Linked DNA regions of Homo sapiens: regions 2, 3, 4, 5, 6 and 7 are each linked to region 1. Evidence: promoter capture Hi-C in 16 types of primary human blood cells and fetal thymus (Javierre and others, 2016). All regions are on one chromosome and are shown on one strand. Each heading gives the region's core, a stretch centred on a gene start or on the middle of the fragment in contact. The rest is flanking DNA. Distances are from core to core; before and after follow the strand shown. Region 1 holds the start of EPHB6 (EPH receptor B6). Region 2 overlaps CLCN1 (chloride voltage-gated channel 1). Region 3 has its middle 100 kb from the start of MIR11400. Region 4 has its middle 87 kb from the start of MIR11400. Region 5 holds the start of CLCN1 (chloride voltage-gated channel 1). Region 6 overlaps CASP2 (caspase 2). Region 7 overlaps TMEM139-AS1 (TMEM139 antisense RNA 1).

Evidence for each region. The method cuts DNA at HindIII sites, captures the fragments that hold promoters and counts their contacts. A CHiCAGO score of 5 or more calls a contact.
Region 2: a fragment that was not itself captured here is called in contact with the fragment with the promoter of EPHB6 in region 1 in 2 of 17 cell types (neutrophils and non-activated CD4 T cells); the score reaches 6.4 in neutrophils.
Region 3: a fragment that was not itself captured here is called in contact with the fragment with the promoter of EPHB6 in region 1 in 1 of 17 cell types (fetal thymus); the score reaches 5.2 in fetal thymus.
Region 4: a fragment that was not itself captured here is called in contact with the fragment with the promoter of EPHB6 in region 1 in 1 of 17 cell types (naive CD4 T cells); the score reaches 5.1 in naive CD4 T cells.
Region 5: the fragment with the promoter of CLCN1 here is called in contact with the fragment with the promoter of EPHB6 in region 1 in 6 of 17 cell types (neutrophils, M0 macrophages, M1 macrophages and 3 more); the score reaches 9.6 in neutrophils.
Region 6: a fragment that was not itself captured here is called in contact with the fragment with the promoter of EPHB6 in region 1 in 3 of 17 cell types (erythroblasts, naive B cells and total B cells); the score reaches 7.5 in erythroblasts.
Region 7: a contact is called between a fragment that was not itself captured here and the fragment with the promoter of EPHB6 in region 1, in 1 of 17 cell types (erythroblasts). The highest score is 6.9, in erythroblasts.

The regions. Positions count from the first base shown.
Region 1 is chr7:142,853,567-142,856,459 of GRCh38, reverse strand. It overlaps EPHB6 (EPH receptor B6), which reads right to left and starts at 1,384. Exons shown (of 20, transcript NM_004445.6): 1 at 1,075-1,384. The HindIII fragment of the contact is 5,828 bases long and covers 1-2,893 here.
Region 2 is chr7:143,343,589-143,346,481 of GRCh38, reverse strand. CLCN1 (chloride voltage-gated channel 1) reads right to left here. Exons shown (of 23, transcript NM_000083.3): 17 at 720-961; 18 at 231-342. Among named protein-coding and RNA genes, the nearest start is that of FAM131B-AS1, 17 kb to the left of the region's middle. RefSeq lists silencers at 886-965, 772-1,066. The HindIII fragment of the contact is 4,049 bases long and covers 1-2,893 here.
Region 3 is chr7:142,368,412-142,371,304 of GRCh38, reverse strand. It overlaps TRB. Among named protein-coding and RNA genes, the nearest start is that of MIR11400, 100 kb to the left of the region's middle. The HindIII fragment of the contact is 1,764 bases long and covers 585-2,348 here.
Region 4 is chr7:142,386,538-142,389,430 of GRCh38, reverse strand. It overlaps TRB, the pseudogene TRBV8-2 and the pseudogene TRBV5-3. Among named protein-coding and RNA genes, the nearest start is that of MIR11400, 87 kb to the left of the region's middle. The HindIII fragment of the contact is 1,987 bases long and covers 441-2,427 here.
Region 5 is chr7:143,314,585-143,317,477 of GRCh38, reverse strand. CLCN1 (chloride voltage-gated channel 1) reads right to left here and starts at 1,367. Exons shown (of 23, transcript NM_000083.3): 1 at 1,086-1,367. The coding sequence starts at 1,265. The HindIII fragment of the contact is 3,265 bases long and covers 551-2,893 here.
Region 6 is chr7:143,292,898-143,295,790 of GRCh38, reverse strand. CASP2 (caspase 2) reads right to left here. Exons shown (of 11, transcript NM_032982.4): 5 at 1,467-1,561; 6 at 1,018-1,194. Among named protein-coding and RNA genes, the nearest start is that of CASP2, 6.0 kb to the right of the region's middle. The HindIII fragment of the contact is 634 bases long and covers 1,065-1,698 here.
Region 7 is chr7:143,258,524-143,261,416 of GRCh38, reverse strand. The region is part of intron 2 of TMEM139-AS1 (TMEM139 antisense RNA 1); the gene reads left to right. All of the region lies in intron 2 of LOC105375546 (a long non-coding RNA gene), which reads right to left. Among named protein-coding and RNA genes, the nearest start is that of GSTK1, 3.5 kb to the left of the region's middle. The HindIII fragment of the contact is 1,703 bases long and covers 657-2,359 here.

The DNA.
Region 1 (2,893 bases), core at 135-2,634:
CAACCATCTTTTTGCACCCTGAATGGAGTAATAGACTCCAAACAAGTCCTCCTTCTGAGGCCACCAGGTAAGTACATAGACACCCCCACGCTAATCTTCCTTTGAGAAAAAAGGCCCACTGCTCTGAAAAGCCAAGTGGCCCCACTGAGCAGCACTCAGAAGCCTCAATGCTCCAATGCCCCTTACTTGGGCAGCTTCTGTGGTCTACTAACAGCCCCACACAGCTCCCTCCCACTGGTCTCTCAGCTCAGGACCAGCATCTCCCCTCCTAGAGCCTCAGTCAAGTTCCCCTGGCGGGCGGAGGGCCTGGGTTAACTGGGAACAGACCCAGCAGCTCCGCTCCATGGGCGCTGCCAGGGACATTACAACATTGCTATGCTGGGTCCATGCCAGCTCCCCCAGGGATGGGAGGAGAGAGGGTGCCAGACGGCCAAGATCGGTGGGTGGGGGTGTGGGGCAAGCAGGGCCAAGCACCCAGATGGAGGGAGCAGAGCGAGGGTGGAGCTGGGGCAGGAGCACGCAATAGAATTTGGTTGCACGTTGGGGGTGATGGCTGGGCAGCAGGAACCAAGCGTTCCTTCCACCTCCAAGGCTTAACTGTGGTCATGGAGCTGGGGGGGACAGTGCCTTGTGGGGAGCAGGGGACAGGTGTGTGGTCAGCCTCCTGACTCCTCCCAGCTCCAAGGGGATTGGAGTGATGCCACTGGAGTCAGAGGGGTGGCAATCCTGTTCCAAGCGTGGAGCTCCGTCTCTGCGAGGACCCTCCCAGATTAGGACTCCCAAGCCAGAGCCAGAGGAGAATGTCTGGGAACGCAACTGGGGGATCCTAACAGCAAGGGTAATGCGGTGTCAATGATGCCAGGTCAGAGTGGAGTGAGAGGGGAGTAGCCAGGTTGACCGTTTCCTCACCCTTCATGAACCCCACTCTGGCCTTGAGGAAGGATCCTCAGTACTCCCTCAGGAAGCCACCTAGGGGCTGAGGAGCCCCACTACTCTTGCAAACCTTAATTCCTCTGTCCCCAAGCATACTGTCCCCGACCCCCACAACGCCGCCTGCTAACCCCGCGGGCTCACCTTCCCGTTGGCCGCAGTCTCTGCAGGTCTGCGCCCCCCGAGGCCTCGCAGTGGACCCGGGGCTCCTGGAGCTCGCACGGTGCCACCCGCGTCTTCTCCAGTCCGGGGACCCCGTTGCACCCGGCCCGGGTCCGTTCGGCGCCGAGAGTCCCTGGGATTCCGGGGTGGACCTGACGCTGGCGGCAGGGGCTGCTCCAGAGGTGGGGCGCCGGGAGATCCTGGGGGCCCGCGTCGAGATCGCCGTCGCCAAGCTGGGTCCCGGGTCCCGCCGCCCGCTGCTGTAGAGCCGCGGCTGGAGCGAACGCAGCCCGGCCCGCCCCCTCCGCGTCCCCTCCCAAGCCGGCCCGGCCCGCCCCTTCAGCCCCTTTGGCCGCCTTCCCACTCCCTTCTTCCGGGGAGCCGAGCCCGCCCTCCCGGCCTAGGCGGTGAGTGCGCGGCGCCCGCTCCTCCGCCCCGGCGCGCGGGGGAGACGCGGGGCGCGCCCGGGGCCCCGCCTGTGCGCCGGGAAGGGGGCGGCCTCCTCCCGCGGGTCTTGGCCGGGAGGATCGCACGCGTGGGGCGCCTGCAGGAAGTGGGAAGGGAAGAGGCTGTCTGTAAAGCCCCTGCCTGGGCTCGGGCTCGGGCTCGGCTTGGGTCGGACACCCGCGGAGCGAAGCGCAACTGGCGGACCGTGGCAGTTCAGGGCAGGGCAGAGCCCTGCACACACCCCCTCGCGCCTCCCTCCTCTTCGGCTTTAACTCTAGGAACTAAAACAGTGGGGCTCCTACTCAGCTTGGAACTAAGGTGGGCGTGAGCTGAGCAAGAGAGAAGGAAGGAAAAGCAGGGGGTGGAGGGAAAGACAAACTGAGAAATCTGGGAGAGTACGGGCGGTGGTAGGGGGAGCCGAGGCAGCGGGAGAGGGGGGCGTCTCGGTATGAAAGCGTCGCCGTGCTAGCCGGGAACTCTTTTCTCTTTTCGTGTCTGGATCTTGGTCAACGTTGGGGCTTCTGAGTCGAACCTCCCTCCATCTACCCTCCCCAAGGGGCAGGGCAGTCGGGTTGAAAAGGGGAAGCGCTGCTGTACGCCTGGCTCTGACATGGCTTGGGCAAGTCGCTGCACCTCTGGGTGCCTCCTCCCTCGCCCGCGCTCCGGAGAGAACCTCCCTGCAGTGAGGAGGGGCGGTGCAAGGTGCTCTCAGCTGGCGCCTGGAGGCAGGGTTGAGGAACCGAGGGGGCGCCGCGAGGAAAAGTGTTTCCGCCCACCTCTAACCCCTTCTCTAGCCGAGGACGGGGATTTGGGGTCTATTGTTTGGGTCCTACAGAGCTGGGCTGGGGCCTTGCCACGAAGTGTTGCTACCACCTGCTGGTTTTTCTAGGGAGCACAAGCACCCGGTGCGATTCCCTTTGCCCCCTTTTCTCCCTGTATCGCCCTGTCCCATCTTGCTCTCCTGTTTATTAAAGCAAATGGGCTGATCAAAACTGGTACTTAAAGAGCATTCAGAAGCCGAAGAAAATTGTGAAAGAGATCTATGAGCCAACAAACACAATAAACAAAACAATGAAACTCAGTAAGAGTCACCTGGGAGAGACAAACAGGCTTTAATGAATTGACTGAATGAGTGATAGAAAGATAAAGGCTACCGAGCAAGTTCCCACTTGGCCAGGGGTTTGTTCACTCTTAATATCAGGAGTCAATAAATAAGTCTGATAGTATTTAATGACTGCATTTGGACGTCATTAATAATTCCACTTGTACTGACGGTTCTACTTTATCTTGTTTCTTCCCTTTGCCCTGAAACTCAGTGGTGGAGGGCTTCCTTCATTTTCTGGTTATCTCCAAG
Region 2 (2,893 bases), core at 1-2,500, 490 kb before region 1:
CTTCCCAGGTACCTCACCCTCTCTTCTACCCTCCTAAATCACCCTCTGCTCCCACTCCCTGGGACAGTAACAAGGAGAATTGATGAATAAGAACCCTGTCCTCCCTCAATCCCCCAGCCTCACCCCCCACCCCACCCCGCATAGGAATTGCATGCAGGTCAAGGTCAGGTCCTAGTGACCAGAGAGAACCCACAAGGGGTGAGTTGGGGTGCATGAGGGAAGAGCGTCACCTGCAGGCTCTGGTGCTTCCGGCTGCTGTTTGTGGCCAGGCAGAGGCCCATTGGGCTCTTCTGGGGACAGAGGGGCAGTAGTAGAGGGGTGGAGAGCAAGGGAAGGAGGAAGCTGTAAGGAAGAGTAAGAAGTCTCAGCCTGGGAGCAGAGACTGCCTGGGCCTTCACTGCCTTTACCAGTTGGTGGATGTTCTGGGAAAGCGAACTCTATTCTTCCCCCCAGTTCAGAAATTCCTATATCCCTTTGAATTGTCGAGGATACCATCATCTGCAACCTTATCTTCTTTAGTCCCTGGACCCAGAGGCACTGGTCTCTATGGTACCTGATCCAGAATTTCTGGCTTTCTCAGTTACCAGACTCTCCCCTCCCTCTTCCCACTACTTTCAGGGAAACTACGCCTGTCCCAGCCCAGCCCAGCCCAGCCCAGACGACGCTTTTCCCTTTGCTCCTGATCTATCCCACTCCCTAGCCCTTCCCGGCGCGGTCACCTCGCTCTTGCCAGAGAGGTCTTCGTCCTCATCCTCATCCACAAAGGCGAAGGACTCGGGCCGGCCTGGAGGCGCGCCGGGGAGCCCCTCCCCAGCCAGCCGCGCCTTCCCGTCGTAAGGCAGCTCCGACAACTTCCGCGCCATCTCTTGGGCTGCGCGCAGCCTGCGCTCAGGACACAGGTGGCGCTGCAGGAGGGCCTGCAGTTCCGACCGCTCCACCGAGCCCAGCAGGATCATTGAATCTGAGGGAAACCCACGCCCTGCCTGAGCGCCCCCTCCAAGCCCTCTCGCACCACCGCGCTCCGCACTCCTGAGAAGGAACAGGAGAGGCGCCACCCTGCCCGGCGTCCCCACATCTTTCTCAGCTTCCTGGAAACTCATTTTAAGAATCCTCCAAGATTAACCTCACTCAATCCCTTTTATTTCATCCATTTAGCAGGTACGGGGCCAATTGGTAGAGCACTAATTGGGCTAATTTGTACTTATTTTGATGAGGCCTTATATAGACTTCAGATAGGTGAGCTGATAATTAAGGAGGCTAATCAATGCTGTCCAAATAAAAAGAAACATGAGAAGCCATTCAAATAAGCTGAGACGTGAACACGCTTTGAAAGAAGTCTATAAGCAATACAAACATTATATCTCTCCCTGGAAAAAGGGAAACAAGGGAACTCTTTCTTTTGTATCTGACATTTCATCATTTAAAAAACCTGGGCCAGGCGGTGGCTCACGCCTGTAATCCCACTACTTTGGAAGGCCGAGGCAGGCGGGTCGCCTGAGGTCAGGAGTTCGAGACCAGCCTTGGCCAACATGGTGAAACCCCGTCTCTACCAAAAATAAAAAAATTAGCTGGGCGTGGTGGCAGGCGCCTGTAATCCCAGCTACTTGGGAGGCTGAGGCAGGAGAATCGCTTGAACCCGGGAGGCAGAGGTTGCAGTGAGCTGAGATCGCACCACTGCACTCCAACCTGGGCGACAAGAGCGAGATTTCATTAAAAAAAAAAAAAAAAAACCCTGCTAGGATAAATCAAAATGCCTACTTTTCCTGAGAAGGTCTTTTATATGATTATAGAAATTTTGCTACTATAGTTAACATTTTTATTAAGTTTTAAGGCCAAGACATTGCAGCAGTGCTCTGGAGATGAATTTTACTGTTAGGTCTCAGTCATTATTATGAAAACCTTGCCCCTCATTTGTTGGCTGTACCCCTCCTCTAATAAAGAGCCTCTGCTGTAGAACGTGGAATGTATATGAGATTTGGGAAAATATTTGAATTAATTTAATTTGAGAAATTTGGATATTCTGATTATTGGAAATCAGAACTAACAATCTTAATGACTCCAAATGGCCCTACATGATTTTTCTTTATTACACTAATTCAAACACTAGGAAATTATTCATTTAATATCTAGTAGATACCTATAACAAGGCACTCTGGGTATATAGAATTCATAGCCTCTATTCTCAAGGAATGCCCACCTAGTTAGGAAGACAAGATATAGATATATAAACCACAATAAGAAATCATACAAAGCAGGATGAAGTGTCAAATGATGGTGAAGGCAGAGAAATGTGAAATTATCGTTTACTAACAACCATTCACTCCTCCATGTGAAACAGTTCCAGCCGGGCACAGTGGCTCATGCCTGTAATCCCAGCACTTTGGGAGGCCAAGGCTGGTGGATCGCCTGAGGTCAGGAGTTCGAGACCAGCCTGGCCAACATGGTGAAACCCCGTCTCTACTAAAAATACAAAATTAGCTGGGCATGGTGGTGCATTCCTGTAATCCCAGCTACTCAGGAGCCTAAGGCAGGAGAATCACTTAGAACCCAGGAGACAGAGGTTGCAGTGAGCCAAGATGGCGCCATTGCACTCCTGCCTGGGCAACAGAGTGAGGCTCTGTCGAAAAGAAAGAAGAGAAAAGAAAAGAAAAGAGAGAGAGAGAAAGAGAGAGGGAAAGAGGGAGGGAGAGAGAAAGAGAGAGAGAGGGAAAGAGGGAGGGAGAGAGAGAGAAAGAGAAAGAAAGAAAAAGAAGGAAAGAAAGAAAGAGAAAGAAAGGAAGGAAGAAAGAAAACAGTTCCAACTCTTCCATAAGTTGGGCATTAAAGAACAAGCATGACTTATGTAAGCATCAAAATGGAACAACGTAAGAAGCTATGGGATTTACATTAATTG
Region 3 (2,893 bases), core at 217-2,716, 490 kb after region 1:
ATAATACAAGTTCTAACATTCTGCAATTAGAAATAATACAATTTCTCACTCTTTGCAAATAGCAGTAACAAAAATTCTATCACATGCAATTAGCATTACCAAAAGAGTTGGGAGAAGCATTAAAATATGCAGTATGAAAATAAATAGTATGACTTGAGTACATGGAATCTAAAGAGGTTCTAGTAGAGAATCATGATGCATGCTCACCTCCTCTTACCTAGAAGTCTGTGGCAGGGTGGATCTACTTCATAAACATAGTGGACACTGTGATGCTTCATTGAGAACCCATTTTCAGACCCATTGCCACATCCCTTTAGAGTTGAGCCCCACACTGGGTTCCCGTCCACAAGAACCATCTTCACTCAAGGTGACACCTTCACACAGTAGAAAAACTGTGTTAATTGCAGAGATGCAAGGTCCAGCATGTCCTAACAAGATGTGCCTTTGGCTTAAGAGGCAAGAAGAGAAGAATTAGGGACTGGAAAAAAGTCTTAAATATTTGAAACAATATTTGAGGAGGGTGAAAGACTGAGCTAGTAAAAGGACCATACTATAATCTCAAAGCAGGGATATAAAGGCAGGTAAGCTTAGTGACTATGTATTTATCATGATAACAGTTTGTGCCGGTGTGACTTACTCTGACAGCATTCAGCTTCTGCCATGCCAAAGAGATCAGTGCATTTATTCTTGTTTATTTTTGTAAATGAAAGGGAAGCCTAAGAGTATCAATATAAAATAATAACTATTTGCAAGCTAGGATTTTTAACACGTAACATCCTCATATCTGCTCTAGAATGAGTAAAGAAATTCTGTAGGGACCCTAGGAAATAGAAAGAATATTTACCAGTGGAGAGGAGATGTCAATAATATCAAAGAACAGGTATGATAGGATAAGAAGCTGTAGGCAGATAGTGGAATATTTAATTTGTGATTTTGGAGATTTAGCATTTTCAAGTGATGACAAAGAAAAAGGGATGGGGCTACTAATGAGGAGGAGTAGAGTAAGTAACAGAATGGAACAACTCATAATTCTGTTATAGGCAAGATATCCTTGAAATGCAAAGAGTAGTCACTGTAAAAGGAAAAATATATATGAATTAAACTTCAAAAAATAGAAAATTTCAGTTCATGAGAAGACTCTATTCAGAAAGTACAAAGGCAGGCCACTCTGGGAGAAGACTAACTCAATATATTTAATGGTCAAAAGGTTTATATAAAAAATACAAACATATTATACGTATTAGTAATATAAGAACAAACAACGTAAGATTTTAAAACAGGCAAATTTAAAAGCAGACACTTGAAAAAAGGAGATAGAAATTACTAATGAAAACAGAAAAAAATGTAAATATAATTACTTATAGAAAAATGCATAGAGATATCACTACAGACCCAATAGAATGATTAAGAAGAAGGTAGAACATGATGGCCAAATAGAAGCCTTCGTTAACTGTTCCTCCAAACAAGAACATCAAACTGAACAACTATCCACACAAAATAGCACCTTCATAAGAACCAAAAATCAACTAAGTGACCACAGTACCTGGTTTTAACTTCATATCACTGAAAGAGGCACTAAAGAGGTAGAAAAGACACTCTTGAATTGCCAATACCATGCCTCCCCCATCCCCTGGCAGTGGCCATATGGCTTGGAGAGACAGTCTGTGCATTTGGGTTAGGGAGAGTGCAGTGACTGTGGGACTTTGTGTTGGAAGTCGTTGCTGTCCTCACACAGTGGATAGCAACAGCAGGCAGGACTCAGCCAGCACTCATGGAAGAACATTTAGACCAGCCCTAGTCAGAGGGGAATCACTTATCCCAGCAGTCAGAACCTGAGTTCTGGCTAGCCTCGCTACCATGGGCTAAAGTGCCTTAGGGTCCTAAATAAACTTGAAACACAGTCCAGGCCACAAGGACTACAATTCCTGGGCAAGTCTTGGTGCTGTGCTGAACTCAGAGTCAGTGGACTTGGGGACACATGACCTAGTGAGATACCAGCTGGGGTGGCCAAGAAATTGCTTATGCCACCCCATCCCCAACCTCAGGCAGCACAGCCCACAGCTCCAGGTGAGACTCCTTTGGATATAGTTTGGATATTTGTCCCCACCCAAATCTCATGTTGAATTGTAATCCCCATGCTGGTGAGGGGTGTTTGTATCACGGGGGCAGATCCCTTATGGCTTGATGCTGTCCTCAGAATAGAGAATGAATTATTGTGAGATCTGGTCATTTAAAAGTATGTTTTAAATGACCTTCCCTCCCTCCCCCACACACTCTCTTTCTCTCTCTTGTTCCTGTTTTCACCATGTAATGTGCCTGCCTCCCCTTTTCTTTCTTCCATGATTGTAAGCTTTTGAGACTACACCAGAAGCAGATGCTGGTGTTATGCCTTCTGTACGGCCTGAAAAACCATGAGCCTATTAAACCATTTTTCTTGTAAATGACCTAGTCTCAGGTATTTCTTTACAGCAATGCAAGAATGGCCTAATTCAGAAAATTGATACAAGAAGTTGGGTATTGTTATAAAAATAACTGAAAATGTGTAAGCAGCTTTGGAACTGGGTAATGGGCAAAAGTTGGAAGAGTTTAGAGGGCTCAGAAGAAGACAGGAATATGATGGAAAGTTTGGAATTTCTGAGAGACTGGTTAAATGGTTGTGACCAAAATGCTGATAGTGATATGGAAAGTGAAGTCCAGGCTGTTGAGGTCTTAGATGGAAATGAGAAACTTATTGGGAACTGGGGCAAAGGTCACACATGTTATGCCTTAGCAAAGAACTTGGGTGCATTTTGCCTCTGCCCTAGGAATCTGTGGAAGTTTGAACTTGCGAGTGATGACCTAGTGTATCTGGTGGAAGAAATTTATAAGCAGCAAAGTGTTGAAGATGTGGCCT
Region 4 (2,893 bases), core at 185-2,684, 470 kb after region 1:
TCCTCTCGTTTTGATCAGGTGTGTGGGACTTTGGGTGACTCCAGCCTCCACTGGGCCTGTGGGAAAAGCAGATGGAGGATGAGCACAGCAGACAGCCTGGAGGTCCTCCCCAGTGTAAAGTGGAGGACACAGGGGTGGGAAATCTGAGAATGGGGCTGCTGTTCTGTGCACAGGACTCATCTGCTCCCAGGAGATAAAGCAGTTCCCAGCAGAGGAGCCCAGGGCCCATGGCACAGTGGGGCAGGCAGCACTGCATCTGATTCAGGGCTTGGTCCTCCTGGGGAAGGGCCAAGTGAGTTCTGGGCCTTGATTTTCCTGATGGGTGGGGTATCCTGTGATGTCACTGTCCTGTGTCCTCCCTATAAATGCTTCCTGAGGTCCAGTACTCCCCACAACCTGAACTCCCTCCCTGTCCAGCAGAAGGGTTGGGTGAGGGCAGAAGCTTCTGTGATGAGACAGTTGCTCCTCTGCCTACACTGCTCCAGCTCCCAGGCTGCCCCATCACCCTCTCACCCTCCTCCCACCTAGTGCTGTCGTGCTCCATGCTGGAGCTCACACACCTGCCCATCAGCAGAGGGTGAGGAGCCTGTGATTAAACCTTCTTGTTCCAGCTCTCCCTGGCTGTCCTAATGTCATCTCTCTGACGCTAGATTCAACCAAATTTTCTAATTCTATTTTTTTGTCCTCAGAAAATATTTCCAGCCCCTCCCTTGAGTGGCCAGTGGTGCAAAGTCCCCAAGATTTAGTCTATCTGATCAGATCCAAAGCAGACCTTGGTTGTCTGTAAATTATTAAGAGTACAGATTCCCCAGAAATAATACTAGGGCTTTATCAGCTCACAGCACAGACCTAGCCAGACAGTTTGGGATTCAGCACCCTCAAGGCCATCTTATGCGTAGTGATCTGGATAATTTACGTTAATTTCTCCAGATCCACCCTGCCTTCAGAGGCTGACCTCAGTGTATTATGTTAACTGGCTCTCTTCTTCTCTAACTCCAGAGTGAGTTTGGCTAATGGGAGACAATGGCAGGAGAGTAGAGGGAGGTAGGGGCACCACTTGTTCTGATTCATCTATGCCCTGGCTATCCTCTTGCTTCATTATTTTATATAGGTTACTTTTCCCTACCAAAGTCCACAGCACCTTATAGGCAGCCTTGCCTTAGAGCTACAGTACCTGATGCTTTGGGATCCACATCCTCTCCTACTTATTTCAGGCCAATGTGAATAAGAGCCACAGATTCTGCTGTTCTTAGGCTACTTCTACTTCTCTTACTGGGTTCCCTTAACCCTGCCACACCTTTGCAAATACTCCTTTTGTCCCTCCTTGATATCTCCAGGACCACGACTAATAGACACAGCAATGGAAAGGTGAGTCCAGGTATTTTATTTTGCCTTAAGAGTCAACACAATTTCTAACATTCTGCCATTAGAAGTAATACAATTTCTAATATCCTGCAATGAGCATTGCTAAAAGAGTCAGGAGAACCATGAGAAATATGCATATGAAAATAAACCATGTGACAGGGGACATAGAATCCAAAGAGATTCCAGCAGAGAATCAAAGTGCACGCTCACCTACTCTGACCTCTCCCCATAAAAGATGAGAGTCATATACAAATAGATGCTTGTATTCTGTACAGTCCTATTTAGAAATGCACCACATAAAATAAGAATAAGACAGGAACACACTCATGACCACAAAAAATACAGAGAATGTGAGACGTGCTTCTTGCTGAGATACACAACAATCAAATTTAGTATCAAAGTGAGCTGGACTGATAAGAGGCTAAGACACAACTGAGGATCGATGGCTGAAAGAAAGCTATAGACAAAGAAAAAAATGCTCACTCGCTGTTGAAGTTATACCAAGAACCATGAACTGTCATCAGTCTCATATATTAGCCTTTCATTTTGACTTTCAGCAGATTGGCCAATTGGTGAATTCATTTTTTTGCCAAGCAAGCAACCAGCTCCCTTTTGCACCGGGATATGCGCTTCTCCCTTTAGGTGCTAAAGAGGACTACAGGCTACAGGAAAATAAAATGTGTGTTCTATATTATTTTATAATATTTTACAAGAAAAACAAGTTAAGGAACTCATGGATTCTAATCCAAGCCACAGTGATGGTAAGAATTAAGTTCCTTCCTTCATCTATCCTCAGAGGACCTCAAACAGGTACTCAGTAAGAGTCTTACAATCTCTTTGATAATTCTACTAGCTGATTATCTTCAGGTCTAATGGCAGAGTTTGTTGTATTTATTAACATTCTCCCTAACTGGATTGTTCTCTTGTGTGTTTATAACTTTATAACAAAAAAAATGGATTTTCTTGTCCTCCACAGAACACATGCTTGGTATCTAAAGGAACCAAAGCCAAGGTGATGTTATGTATGCTACCTGAGAATCCCAGATCACTCAAGCAGGCTAAAGCTTCCCAGCTGCTTTCTGCTTTTTTCTTCTCTCCTGAAAAGAAAGTGAAATATGAATTTCTTGTTAGAAGCTACCATTCCTTTGCACAATTACCAGAATATTCCAAATTGAGCAAAATAACATTACGTTGTTTGCATTTACACATCCGCACTACAGTGACAGACCCAGCTCACTCTAAGTTTTATGCTGCAGGAGCACACATAGAATGAGATCCCATTGCTGGGAAGTCTGGGAAGAGCTTCAGAAAGGGCAGCTTTTTCTTCTGGTTGAGACACGGGCTTCCATAAGGAGTGCCCACCTCCAGCCTGTGACTGCCCTTTTTGTGCAGAGGGCAGCTGGCTGTGCAGGGCTGCGGATGTGCTGCCACAGTGGTACAGATAGGTCTGGCTGGTGCTGGTGGATGCCAGGATTGGGGAAATGCTCAAGCTTGTTTCAAGAGACACAGTACCCCTCTGTGACATCAA
Region 5 (2,893 bases), core at 118-2,617, 460 kb before region 1:
TCAGGAGTTCGAGACAGCCTGGCCAACATGGCAAAACCCCGTCTCTACTGAAAGTACAAAAATTTGCCAGGTATGGTGGCAGGTGCTTGTAATCCCAGCTACTCAGGAGGCTGAGGAAAGAGAATTGCTTGAACCCGGGAGGCGGAGGTCGCAGTGAGCCAAGATAGCACCACTGCACTCCAGCCTGGGAGACAGAGCGAGACTCCATCTCAAAAAAAAAAAAAAAAAAAAAAGTTCTGGCCAACTGCCCTCTAGACAAATTCTATCCTCTGTTATTCTCTGCATTCTTTGGAGGGAGAGGCACACTTACTTATTAACCATGACCTATCTTTTTCCATGACAATTTCACAACCTTTCCTTTAGTTGTGCCCATCCCCATTCCCCCTTTCCTAGGTGTTCATATCCCACCAATCCCACAGCGGGAGGCTGCTCATCCATAGACACTCCTAATTAGCCTGCATGCTTCTGTTGCTGGGATCACATCTCTGCCCTTTTCCAGGTGCCTAACACTTAATAGGTTCTTACTTGATCATCTTGCGACCTAAAAGCTTGTACATCTCTGCTCATTTTGACGTTGGTAGATCTTTGATCACTGATAAGCAATTCAGTCTGTTTTCTACACTTGCCCAATTCCTTTCTTCTGCCTTCTGCAGAAAGATTCATGTTTGTGTGTATTCTGCAGAGGGTCCCAGAGGCAGAAATCTGGCAGTGTCTACCTGTGGGTGAGGGTGTGGGAGACAGCTCCCAGCACACTGCAGTGTGGGCTCCTACGCAATCCACTCCACGTAGGTTATGTAAGCACGAGCTATTCATGCATGTGAGGCTCTGCTGTTTCCCCATATGATTTGGGTACTCTGTTGGTAAAGGTTGTATGAAAGTGCATGCATATCTCTCTAAGTGCATACTTAAGTGAGCCCAGACTTTCAAAGATTTTCATATTTTGAACACATCACCACGTACTTGTTTTTTAAGTTAAAAAAATGTAACACTGCTCCCTCTTTTCACCCAATTCCTCATTTTCACCAGTCTCTGGCACCACTGTCTCCCCTCATCCATGGCTCCCCTCTCCCCTTAGAGCACTTTACCTGTGTGGGGTGGACGTTGTGGCGGGGGCCTGCATCCTTCCGGAGCCTGTGCTGGAGGCCCCCATTCTCAGAGGGCAGTCCGTAGCTGGTGCAGTGTTCAAAGGGCATATACTGGTACTGGGGGTCACTACCCCACCAGCTTTGTTCACCCCCACGCTGCTGTGACCGGGATTGCTCCATATTCCCTCCCCCCGAGCCCCGGCCAGGCCTTGGCCTGCTTGCCCCTGTCCTTCCCCCAGTGTAGCTCCTTAAGCCTCTGCTCTTGCTGTCCCCAAGGCGTCTGGGGCAGCATGCCCACCTCCAGCTATTTATAGACCCCTCTCCGTCACATGACCCCCCACTGCCACATCTGATCTGCTTGGGGTCGAAGCAGGTGTGAGTGCAGTGTGGGGGTGGGGGTTGGGATGAGAACCTGAGGGACAGCCCCACAGGGAATTCCCTCTGCTGAGCCAGTGGCATTGTCCCCCTTCTTAGTCACCAGTAGTAGGCTTCCAGCTCCATGTCACTGGTCCCTCTATAAATATCGCCTGGACCAGGATGAGAAACTGCTGAGTATGCTCTCAAACCTATGTGTAGAGCCGGATCTGCATGGAAGCCCTCCAGTTGCCCATCTCTCTTCTTCAGGATGCGGAAGGTGAGGGGTGGGTGCTGGATAAAGATGAAGCGACTCGAAGTTCTGGAAACACTGGCACATTAACTCACCTGGGAAAGTAACTGGTGCCTCTCTGCCACATCTCCTGGCCAGCTTGTTCCCAACTCTGTGTCCACCCAGGGTTCTGTCTGGCCAGCTCTGCCAGCCCATCCCATGTCCAGCGTTCTTCTCTAGCTCTTTGCCCTTCTGTCTGCCAGAGGCTGCTAATAACAGCTTGGGGGCATCCCCTGATCCCATCCTTATCACTCACTGGGTGTGGAACACTTATGGGAAGTGGGAAGTCGAGGGTCGGTAATAGCCTTGGGTTCTAGAATTTCTCCCACTTCCCAGACTGTTAGGTGTCAGCCACACTGCCAACCCGGAGGGACTGAGCTTCCATTTGGACTGTGGAGTGCCCACACTGGCTCCATCAGATAGATAACAAGGGAGATAACAGGGGAGAATCGAAAGTAGAAAGAGGCACAGGGAAGGGAGAGGTGGGAAAGGGGTGAGGGCTTCTCATGACAAGCCCGACAAACATGAAAGATGATGGGGAAGTGCTCTCTGCTATTCTTCCCTTTTCAGGTCAATAAATACTTTTTTGGCCAAGGACAAACTTTTCTTCCTGGCATCACGTTATAAAACCAATTTTCCTATGACATGTCTTCCCTATGAACTCTTCACTGTAGGAGAAAAGATATGAACTGAGCCAAAGTAAAGTTTAGGATGCATTACCAAGTGGGGTCTGTCCCAGGACAGTCCAAGTTCAGGGACTGCAGGGTAGGGACACCAAACATCTGGTCTACAATGTGATTTTGACCTAGGCTAAATGGAACCACCCAAAGCAGGAGGGAAGCCAATATCATTAAAAGTACTTTTTCTAGGGCCTCAACATCATTAATCATCAGGAAACCAAAATCATAATGCAATATCGCCTCATACCTGTTAGGATGGCTATTATCAAAAAAGCAAGAGATAGCCATTATTATGGCTATGGATATTATGGTTCATGCTTATAATCCCAGCAATGTGGGTGACCAAGGCGGGTGGAATGCTTAAGCCCAGCAGTTCGAGACCAACCTGGCAACATGGGGAGACCCTGTCTCTATAAAAATTATAAAAATCAGCCATGTGTGGTGGTGCACGCCTGTAGTCCCAGCTACTTGGGAGGCTGAGA
Region 6 (2,893 bases), core at 132-2,631, 440 kb before region 1:
GCTGGCAAAAATAGCATGTAAAGGACAACACCCAGGTACCTGTGGATGAAACTGGCCTTGCCAAAAATATAGTAAATACATAATTACTCTCACAGAAGGAGGGCAGCTAAGAAAGAGAAATGAAGACTACAGACAATGCTGAATGGAAAACAAAGATCCTCTATCCCAACAGATCAAAGTGAATCTCCTAGCAATTTTAATTTCACCACTGACAACCTCAAAGCAAGTTGAAGAAAGTTCTACTATTCTGGAATCAAAATAAAGAGTGAATATGAATCTACAAATAGGCCATTATTGATTGCAAAATAGAAACCCTAAAGGTCACAAAGTCAGTTGTGCAGTACAGTAACTGAGGTTAATGACGAACAGCCCATAATGAAAATGTTTACAATTTCTAGAAATCTGGTCCACAAACAATCTACCCTATGACTTGTGATTACACAAATGTTAAGAATACTTTCCCAGCCAGGTGCCGTAGCTCATGCCTATAATCCCAGCACTTTGGGAGGCCGAGGGGGACGGATCACCTGAGGTCAGGAGTTTGAGACCAGCCTGGCCAACATGGCAAAACCCCGTCTCTACTAAAAATACAACAATAAGCCAGGTATGGTTGCATGCGCCTGCAGTTCCAGCTACTCAGGAAGCTGAGGCAGGAGAATCGCTTGAACCTGGTAGGCAGAGGTTGCAGTGAGCCGAGATCGTGCCATTGCACTCCAGCCTGGGTGACAGAGCTAAACTCTGTCTTTAAAAAAAAAAAAAAAAGTGAGACACCAACTGTGGACTATTATTACTTTATGAAACCACAACCTGAGATGTCAACACTAAAATGGCTGGCCGGCCCTAATTCTTTCTTACTAGAATGCAAGGTGAGAGGCAGAACAGAGTGAGTAAAAATGTAAGTAGAATAAACCAACTTTTAAGACATATCCCAGCAGGCACAGGAACAAACGATGTCTCTGGTCCCAAAGTGTTGTTCAGTCCTCTAATTTACATGTCAATTTTTCCCACCTCAGGTACCTGTGCAGTCTGGTCACATAGAACATGGACGTCATAGCCCAAAAGCTTGAAGAGGGTGACTAGAGTACTGTGGTCCACATCCCCTCCAGAGCGAAATTCCAGTTCTTTCTCTCCAGTGAAGTGCACATTGCTCAACACCAGTGCTAGGCCACGAGGCCGAGACTGCAACCTATATGCCTGTGGAGGAGAGGCCAGTTAGACCATGAGCGTCTTGATAACAGATGATTCCTCGGCTAGATTAGACATTTCAAGAAAACAAAGACATCGTATTTTTCTTCTTAACCTCCAGCAGGTAAAAATAGACAAATGCTCACAGAAGGCATTTAACCAGTAACAACTTTCTGACTAATAAGGCAGAAAGGAAATGTACATGCAAACTAAGTTCAGGTTCCCAGGAAGGGTGTCTAATTTCCCAACTCTCTTCCTCTTGTCATTATGCAAAAACTCACCAGCTGGAAGTGTGTTTGATAAAATTCAGGAGTGCAAGGCTTCACCTGAAGGCAGACAGGACCATCTTTATTGTCTAGGGAGTGTTCCACAGTATCTGTGGTATAGACAGAAAACCAAAAAACTAGTATATAACTTAACCATCAATCTTAATATGTCATTGTAACTTCAGACATCTCTTGCAACTGGGTTGTGATAAATATTGGTCTCACTCACTACCCAAACCTGTAAGCTTCATGAGGGCAGAGACTCTTAGTTTTAGCTCACTAAAGGATTCTCTGCACATAGCCTGCATGAAGCATATGCTCAACTGGCTGAATGACCGAATGGGCTAGCTGATAAAAGCCTCGTTCCAATCACTAGGATGCTCCATCAGCAGGCTGGTGGCCCCAAATGTAGTCTTTTCTTATTCAGCTTTTTAGAGGCCAATTGAGCATGAACTTCCTGCCCATACATGCTACTCAAAGGCCCAATTATCACAAAAACTGTTATCTGGGGTGGAAGGGAAATGGACCAACTATTAATAACACCTTGCCTGGGCCGGGCGCAGTGACTCATGCCTGTAATCCCAACACTTTGGGAGGCCGAGGCAGGCAGATCACGAGGTCAGGAGATGGTGAAACCCCATCTCTTACTAAAAACACAAAAAATTAGCTGGGTATGGTGGCACGCACCTGTAATCCTAGCTACTCAGGAGGCTGAGGCAGGAGAATCACTTGAACCCAGGAGGCAGAGTTTGCAGTGAGCCGAGACTGCACCATTGCACTACAGCCTGGACGACAGAGCAAGACTCCATCACAAGAAAAAAAAAAAACAAAAAACCACAAACTCCTGCATAAACTGTCCTACTAGCCCTTAACAAATTTACTGACAACTGTTCCCAATATAAACTATGTCTCAGCTGGGCATGGTGGCTTACGCCTATAATCCCAGCACTTTGGGAGGCCAAGGCGGAAGGATCATTTGAGGCCAGAAGTTTGACACCAGCCTGGGTAACAAAGTGAGACTCCTTCTCTACAAAAAATTTAAAAATGAGCTAGGTGTGGTGGCATGCACCTGTAATCCCAGGTACTTGGGAGGCTGAGGCAGGAGGAGCCCTTCAACCCAGGAGTTCAACGCTGCAGTGAGCTATGGTGGTGTCACTGCATTCCAGCCTGGGTGACAGAACAAGACCCTATTTCTGAAAAAAAACACAACAAAAAAAAAAAAAAACAAAAAAAAGGGCTCATGTTAGGACAAAGCCAGATACCAGACAAGAAAGGGGAAGTCAATCTGGGACACCCCCCTCCTTTTTATTTTATTTTATTTTATTTTTTGAGACTGAGTCTCACTCTGTTGGCAAGGCTGGAGTGCGGTGGCACCGTGTTGGCTCACTGCAACCTCCGTCTCCTGGGTTCTAGCAATTCTCCTGCCCCAGCTTCCCGAGTAG
Region 7 (2,893 bases), core at 259-2,758, 400 kb before region 1:
GAGTGCAGTAGCACAATTGCAGCTCACTGCAACCTCTGCCTCCTGGGTTCAAGCAATTCTCTCTGCCTCAGCCTCCCAAGTAGCTGGGATTACAGGTGCCCACCACCACGCCCAGCTAATTTTTTGTGTGTTTTTGGTAGAGATGGGCTTTCACTATGTTGGCCAGCCTGGTCTTGAACTCCTGACCTCAGGTGATCCACCCATTTTGGCCTTCCAAAGTGCTGGGATTACAAATGTGAGCCACCACAGCCCACCTTGTTTTTTTTGAGACATGATCTCACTCTCGCTCAGACTGAAGTGCAGTGGTTCAATTTTGGCTCACTGCAACCTCTGCCCCCCAAGCTCAAGCAATTCTCCCACCTTGGCCTCCTGAGTAGCAGGGACTACAGGTGTATGTCACCACACCCAGCTAATTTTTGTTTTTTGTCGAGGTGGGGTTTCACCATGCTTCCCAGTCTGGTCTTGAATTCCTGGGCTCAAGTGATCCTCCCACCTCGGCCTCCCAAACTGCTGGGATTACAGGCATGAGCCACCATGCCCAGCTACATTTTTGTTTTTCTCCAGTAATCATAATTTTAAAGTGTCCAAGAGCTAATTCAGCGTGGTAATTTAAGGTTTCATTTCAAAGGTAGATCAATCACTTATTTTAAAAAGCTTTTTATATTTGGAAATGTTTTAGATTTATAGAAGACTTGTAAAGATAGTACAAGGTTTCTGAATACCCCTCATCCAGCTTTACCTAATGTGAAAATCTTACATAAGTATGATAATGATAAAAACCAATACATTAACATTGGTACATTACTTTTTTTTTTTTTTTTGAGCTGGAGTCTCACTCTGTTACCCAGGCCGGAGTGCAGTGGCGCAATCTTGGCTCACTGCGACCTCCGGCTCCCAGGTTCAAGCGATTCTTCTGCCTCAGTCTCCCAAGTAGCTGGGACTACAGGCGTGTGCCACCACGCTCAGCTAATTTTTTGTATTTTTTAGTAGAGACGGGGTTTCACCATATTGGACAGGCTGGTTTCCAACTCCTGATCTCGTGATCCCCCTGCCTCAGCCTCCCAAAGTGCTGGCATGAGCCACTGTGCCCAGCCTGGTACGTTACTATTAACTGAACTGCAGGTTTTGCTCAGATTTCACCAGTTTTTTCATTAGTGTTCTTTTTCTGTTCCAGGATCCAGTCCAGCATACATACAGAATTTTGTTGTCATGTCTCTTTATTCTTCCCATATCTATGAGAGTTTCTTGGCCTTTTCTAGTGTTTCATGACTTTGACACTTGTGAAGAGTATTGATCAGCTATTTTGTGGCATGTCCCTTCATTTGGGTTTGTCTGATATTTCCTCAGAGTAAGACTAAGGTTGTGGACTTTTGGGAAGATTACCACAGAGGTAAGGTGCCCTTCTTGAATCATGTCATGAGGTACAGGGATATCAACATGACTCATCACTGGTGGTGTTTACCTTGGTCACCTGGTTAAGGCGGAGCAACTGGAAAATTTCTGCACTGTAAAGTCACCATTTTTCCCTATCCAAACCCTAGTTTTTGGAAGGGAGTCAGTAAGTGCAGCCCATCCTGGGAGTGAGGGTTGAGTAGATTAAGTCCATCCACTGGAGGGAAGAATATTAAAGAAGTTGTGGATATACGTTAACACTACCATGGTAACTAATAAATATTTGGGGGAGATACTTTGAGGCTATGCAAATATCCAGTTGCTCCCTAAACTGTCACCCATCAGTTTTATTATTCATCAGTGGATCTTGCCTGCAGCAGTTGTTACTGTGGTGTTCTAATGGTGATTCTCTATTTCCTTAGTTTTTTTCATTTATTAATTGGAATTCTTTTGACAGGAGAGTTGTCCCTTCTTTCTATTTATTTATTTATTCAGTCAGTTATTTATATCAGTATGGACTCATGTATATTTACTTTAAGAATCACAGAATAATAAAACATTGATCTGAGTCCTTACAGTCTATCTCCACATACTATTACTGTTGTTATTATTATTATTTTTAGGTTGGGCCCTGTTGTGGATAAAATGGAGTAGAGACAACAAAAAGAAAAATATATTCACTTCTATGGGCTATCATCTTCCTATTGCTGAGAGGGGTATTTAGTGTTAAAAGAAAAACCTCAGACAATTTAAATTTAATGGAGTTTATTTGAGTAAAGAATGATTCTTGAATCAGGCAGTACTCAGAACCAGAAGAGGTTCCGAGAGCTCTGCAACTGTAAGCAATGAGTATTTATAAGCAGAACAGGAAGGTAAAGTACATAAATAGTTTGATTTGTTGCAGCTAAGTGTTTTGCTTGATTTAGACATGAGCCAGTCCGTTGGCTGCTTGCACTTAGCTGAAGCTTGGCTGCTTGTGATTGGCAAAGACCTGGTTATCTGTTATAAAAATGAAACTCCTAAGTTAAGTTTCAGTTTGTTTACATACTAAGTTAGGTTGCATTTTGTTTCATAGGAATTCAAAGCATGGAGACTGTCTCAGGTCAATAGCCTCCTGCTTACTTAATTTTACTCTAGATACTGATTAGAGCTATTGAAACAAGAAATAGTGGTATAAGTAAGTTATTTGAAGTGGGAAAAGCACTAAGTAGAGGAACAAAACATGATATAATTATCAAACATTGGAGGAGGCAGAGGAGAGGTGGTGTATGCGATCCAAATTCTCATCTTTCGTAGATGAGCCAATGGTATTATCTACATTTGAAAGCTCAGTAAATAGCGCTTTAATCATGTCATTTGGAATTAAATAATTGATACTGGAAATGCTTTAAGTTGCCTTTTCAAATAAATAAAAAATTGACTATTCAATAAATGATATTGGGACAACTGAGAGGTTTTTTTTTTTGTTTTTGTTTGTTTGTTTGTTTTTGTTTTTTTGTGA